Linked DNA regions of Homo sapiens: region 1 is linked to region 2. Evidence: promoter capture Hi-C in 16 types of primary human blood cells and fetal thymus (Javierre and others, 2016). All regions are on one chromosome and are shown on one strand. The core of a region is centred on a gene start or on the middle of the fragment in contact, and the rest is flanking DNA. Distances in the headings are between cores, read along the strand shown. Region 1 overlaps NT5C1B-RDH14 (NT5C1B-RDH14 readthrough). Region 2 holds the start of FAM98A (family with sequence similarity 98 member A).

The links. Contacts are between HindIII fragments. The CHiCAGO score rates a contact against its expected background, and 5 or more counts as called.
Region 1: a contact is called between a fragment that was not itself captured here and the fragment with the promoter of FAM98A in region 2, in 1 of 17 cell types (non-activated CD4 T cells). The highest score is 7.1, in non-activated CD4 T cells.

The regions. Positions count from the first base shown.
Region 1 is chr2:18,563,770-18,566,469 of GRCh38, reverse strand. NT5C1B-RDH14 (NT5C1B-RDH14 readthrough) reads left to right here. Exons shown (of 11, transcript NM_001199104.2): 10 at 2,351-2,625. It overlaps NT5C1B (5'-nucleotidase, cytosolic IB), which reads left to right. Exons shown (of 9, transcript NM_033253.4): 9 at 2,351-2,700. The coding sequence ends at 2,674. It overlaps LOC105373456 (a long non-coding RNA gene), which reads right to left. Exons shown (of 6, transcript XR_007086234.1): 2 at 2,444-2,649. Among named protein-coding and RNA genes, the nearest start is that of RDH14, 4.5 kb to the right of the region's middle. The HindIII fragment of the contact is 3,268 bases long and covers 1-2,700 here.
Region 2 is chr2:33,597,803-33,600,581 of GRCh38, reverse strand. FAM98A (family with sequence similarity 98 member A) reads left to right here and starts at 1,283. Exons shown (of 8, transcript NM_015475.5): 1 at 1,283-1,413. The coding sequence starts at 1,361. It overlaps LOC105374455 (a long non-coding RNA gene), which reads right to left and starts at 1,237. Exons shown (of 3, transcript XR_939942.3): 1 at 1-1,237. RefSeq lists enhancers at 770-999, 1,140-1,189, 1,220-1,289, 1,840-2,029. The HindIII fragment of the contact is 3,614 bases long and covers 1-2,779 here.

The DNA.
Region 1 (2,700 bases), core at 97-2,596, about 15 Mb after region 2:
TTTCACCTATATGTATGGCCTCTTACCGTGAGAAAGCAAATTTACTTGTTTTTTTCTAAGATATACAACCTTAAAGAAAATTTAAGCAAATGGTTACACAATAAGTCATGTTTACAGAAAACTGTTTGTTTCCATGACAGCAAAGAAGGGAGCCTTTGAATCATGAAAACAAGTCAGTCTCCAAATACTACCCTTGACCTTCCCCTAGAAACCCACCAATTATCCCAAGAAAAACCAGTCTACTTCAGTATAAGTAATAATAAAAAGAGAGCTGACATTGAATACATTCAAAGATACTATGAGAAAAAGGCAGATTAAAAAAGAAAAAAATCTAATAACAGATGAAGAGCTCTTACAAGAAAAAGTTGACATAATACAGATAATTATGACTGAACATTTGCCATGACTTTTAAAGACTTAAAGCAAGATCATAAAGTAAAAATGCAATAGTCAAGGAAGACATGATAAAATGTGAAAGTTATAGAATGCTGTAAATCTTTCGTCCCTTCCAATAGAGTTATTACCCATCTGTTACTGTTAAAAATACAATTACATATAGAAAAATGACAGAAATAGATAACAGGTAAAGAAGACCCAGCATATGCCTAAGTAGAATCCCTGAAGAAAAACTTTAAAATCATGTTGGGGGAGGGGGACTGATGTTAAATATAAAGATGCAAATTAATGTAAAAATATAAATTAAAAACTGCTAAATTATCAAAGATGTTTATATATATTAAATGATTAAAATATTAAAGATTAAAAGCCCATATTGTATGACAGAGGTATAGAATCAAAATGACCATCACTGAGACATGGCCTAGTGAAATTACTGGGCTTCAAAATGAAGAAATAATTATCTGGGCTGCCTACTCATGTAAGTGATGGAAGAGGTGGCATGGCAATCAAGAGGCCCTCAAACTTCTCAAGAGCAGCATTCAAAAGCAAAAGACAGTGGAGCACTACTTATAAGATCTTGTGGAGAATCTTATATGTAAATCATGGATTCTATATCTAGCCAAAAGTTTATTCAAGGACAGAGGAAATAGATATATAGTTGAGAATATACTATATTCTCAGGGATTATTACCATAAGATGTTTTTGAGAAAATCAGTACTACAGGACAAATTTCGGCCAACATGCAGAGGACTAGAAGCACAAAGGCACAAATGGTCATATAATATACTTAACCATAGAATTAAAACTAAAACAACCGTACAAATGAACAAATTTGTATGATGTACAAATTATGTAACTAACAAAAAATGGAAAAATATGGGGAAAGAAGGTCTACGGAAGAAGTATGCTGGAATTTTCAGTTACAATAGCCAATCAAAGGATGAAATGTAAACTTGATAAACAGAAATAAAACAAAATGTAATAATGCAAAAGAAACACCAAGGAAAAGTAAATAAATGACTAAAATTAGATGGTGGAGAAGAAATAGAGGACTACAGAGACATTGAAGAAATGCCCTGCTTTCATTATTTCTCATTATGAAGAATAATAGATCTGGGATTCTTTTTAAAATAGAGGACTGAGGGTACTATAAAAGGTTATAGTTGTAAAGGTAATTTATAGAAGGAAATAATGTAAACCTTCTTAAATGTCAGAAGAACCACCCACACACAACTACAAAGAAGAAAGACACAGATTATTGAACAATCCTTTAAAAATTTTAAAACATGGAAAATGCAATAAAAACCATAAGACAGAAACAATCTCAAGTATGTTTGTAATATGAATAAATGTAAATGAACAAAAACTTAACTATTGTTTTAAAAAATAAGATTTTCAGGTTGTATCACATAGCAAAATCCAATTCTAGGCTCTGTACAAGAGATACTAAAACCAAGTGTTTGGAAAGGTTAAAAATGAAAGACACAGTTAGATTCAAGCCAAACAGCATTAAACTAGACAAAAGCATATACTTCATAAAGTTAAAATGCACAATTCACAAAAAGCAAATTAAAAGAGTAGTGCTTTGGTAACTAATTAGAGTTTATTTAGAGTGACCCTCTATTCCAGCTTACCATGGATAGTTTATGTCTGTTGTCCTGGCTTAAGTATTTATTGAACATTCTTTCATACCTAAAGTATATAGGTTTACATGTTAAATAATATGGTCATTTTAGGCACATTCCAGGAATGCAAGGATGGTTCTATATCAGAAAACATATTCACATAAATTCCTATCAAGTTTTAGCATTTTGCCATCAGCTTCATAACACTGCATGTCATGCTGTATTATATCCTTTGTATTGTATCGTATCATATAGGTCTCTGCTTTTTAGCATTCACTTTCTTTGGCTCACTGTATCACAGCTGTGATATATGTTCCTTTTACAGGGTCCCCTAAAAGGCTTTCTGGAAGATTTAGGCAGACTGCAAAAGAAGTTCTATGCCAAAAATGAACGGTTACTTTGTCCTATCAGGACCTACCTGGTTACAGCTAGGAGTGCAGCCAGTTCAGGCGCCCGTGTGCTGAAGACCCTTCGACGCTGGGGTCTAGAGATAGACGAAGCTCTTTTCCTTGCTGGAGCCCCCAAAAGTCCCATCTTGGTGAAGATCCGGCCCCACATCTTCTTTGATGACCACATGTTCCACATTGAAGGGGCACAGAGGTTAGGTTCCATCGCAGCTTATGGCTTTAATAAAAAATTCAGTAGTTAGGGGCAGGGAGGAGAAATAAAGTGGTG
Region 2 (2,779 bases), core at 34-2,533:
GTCAGGAGATCGAGACCATCCTGGCTAACATGGTGAAACCCCGTCTCTACTAAAAATACAAAAAATTAGCTGGGTGTGGTGGTGAACGCCTGTGGTCCCAGCTACTTGGGAGGCTGAGGCAGAATAATGGCGTGAACCCGGGAGGCGGAGCTTGCAGTGAGCCGAGATCGCACCACTGCACTCCAGCCTGAGCGACAGAGCAAGACTCCGTCTCATAAAAAAAAAAAAAAAAAAAGAAAGAAAAGAAAAAGGTACTACTAAGGATAGGAACATCTATCCATCAGACACAAAAATGCTTGAGAACTATAGAATAAAATCAACAGGTATCAATATGAAAACTCTTTAATTAAATGCCTACACGATTTAACAGTACGCCAACTTATGGTTAAATATAGTTTTCTAAATATGCCATCACTTTGAAAACATTTCTGATTTTTCAGTAATTTCTAAACACACCCTCAGTAACTGCCAAGATATCACAACACATCCACATCGTGAACTCAATGTTTCACCCGGGCAAATAATGTCAAAAGTAATGACAGTACAGCCAAAAAGTTTATTCACTGTCTAAACTACGTGGATTTAAAAATATTCTATTCTATTTGCTATGGAGTGAAGCTCCCCTTCTCCTTAAAATAACATGCTTAGTGTCTGGGAAGGGCTTTAGACATCAGGTAGAGAATGCATGAGGGAAAACGACCCAACTTTCTGAACATCCATAGTCTGCGGAAAGTTGGCTCATCCCTAACCCTGAAATAAAGCTACTGCAGCCACGAGGAAATCAAATGGCACGCTATCTGCCGTCTGCACTTGGCCCGCACCCGCGTCCTGAAGACGGGAGCGCAAGAATTCTCCCTTTCTACATGACCTGCAAGCTAAGGCTAGCACATGCCGGCACCCTACGAAGAGCCACCCGATCTCCTGTCTGGGATGCAGAGACTCGGTTTAACAGCCGACTCCACCCGCGTCCCGAGACTCTTCCAAGCTCCTTCCCGGCCCGCCGCGCCCCCTACATTCGCACATGCGTACACCCAATAACGAGAGCCGAGAGCGCTCCCCTTCGCGTGGTCCCCACGCCCAGCTGCCACGCAGCCGGTCCTCCTACCCTTCTCTGGGCGGCTAGCTTCACGATCCAGTAACGCGCATGTGCAAAACTGCGGGCCCTGTAATTCTTTAGTGGGCAGGGGTGGGGCGGTCAGTGGGACCAAGTTTCTTGCGCACGCTCCGGACATGCGCAGTGCGGGAGCTGAGGCGCCAGCTGTGGATTTGGAAGTTCCGGGGAAGTCGCGCATGCGCGAGTGTACGCGTTGCCGGCGAAGAGGGGAGCCTGACGACTCGGAAATTTGAATACCACAGTAGCATGGAGTGTGACCTCATGGAGACTGACATCTTGGAGTCGTTGGAAGATCTAGGGTAAGATTGTCAGGGCACGGGTCTCCCAAGCCCCACGCTGCCGGCCCCCTGGGAACACCTCCTGCGCCCCAGTCTGAGACACCTGCCTCTCCACGCCGCACCCCGTGGCTCCTGGCTGTCGCTTCCCTTTGGCCCCGGCACCCCCAATGCCACGTCCACTGTCTGCACTGCTAGCTCGGGGTCCTCCAATCCCAACACCCCTAGGCCTGCCCAGTGCTCCCTGCAGGCGAGCTACCCGCAGCGTTTGTCAGTCATGCGTGTCATTGTCTGGGCTCTGATTTTCGCCACCCCCACTCCCCGAGCTTCTCTCCTCGCTTCATCCTCCTGCCCTACCCCTTAACCCCTCAACTCTAAAGGTTGCCAAAGTTGATTCTGCTTTCCTACTTGTTCTCCAAATTTCCTACTCCCATCTTGAGCCCCTCCTCCTACCCCACCCCACTTCTCTCAAAATTTCTCCTTTGCCCAGTCATCTCTGCATGCACCCAGGCTTCGCTAAGCCACTTGTATGGGCGCTGCATCTGTTCCGCTGGCCAGCTCGCTTGTGCATCTAACCTATCACCACGTCCCTGGGAACCACCAGCAGTTTGCTTTGACTCTGTGATACTCTGCCTCGTTGAGCCCCATTAGACCAGGGTCGTCTTCACCCACGAAGAACCTGCGTATTTGTTTTGCATTGTGTCTCTCCTTCTCCTGATATTTATTCAACCATAATTCATCAGTATCTAGAAGCTGGAAATAGGGTTTGTTATCTCACTGGGTCACCCAGATCAGTGTACTCTATTAAACTTGAGAACGTGGACCCTCTTGGGCTAAATGTGGTTCCAGAAACAAATTGTATGGTTAGATACTTACCTACAGGTACGGTATCAAAACAAAGTACAGATTTAGCTAGCTGTATTTCTAAGTAACAAGTTCTTTATCAAAATTTTCTCTTAGGTTTTTCCATGACAAGGAAACCTTTGAGAGAAACCTTTCTTTAGGAAAAAACACCTTGAGGATTCCCAAAGTCTGCCTATTTGAATAATTTACTACCCTAGTAGAAATTTTTAGGAACGAAGTAGTCTTGCTTATCATCTGTCTTTGTCACAGTGAAATACTATTGTTCTTTTCTTGGAAACTTGCTCTGAATTTTTATAAATATTCCAGACTTTAGGGGGCTTCTTTCTTTCATTAGGGCATATGTTAAAGTCATTCAGCAAAATAGTCTCTTTAGTTGACATCTCAGACTGAATCGCTTGTTCACACATGAAACCATTCATTCATTAGGACTTTTTTAGGAACAGTTTCTTTGTGGCAGTGTTAGGCCCTTAGAGTACAAGGTGAGGTGGAAGAGGGGTTCACAGGATACTGGGAAAATATGCTGTGA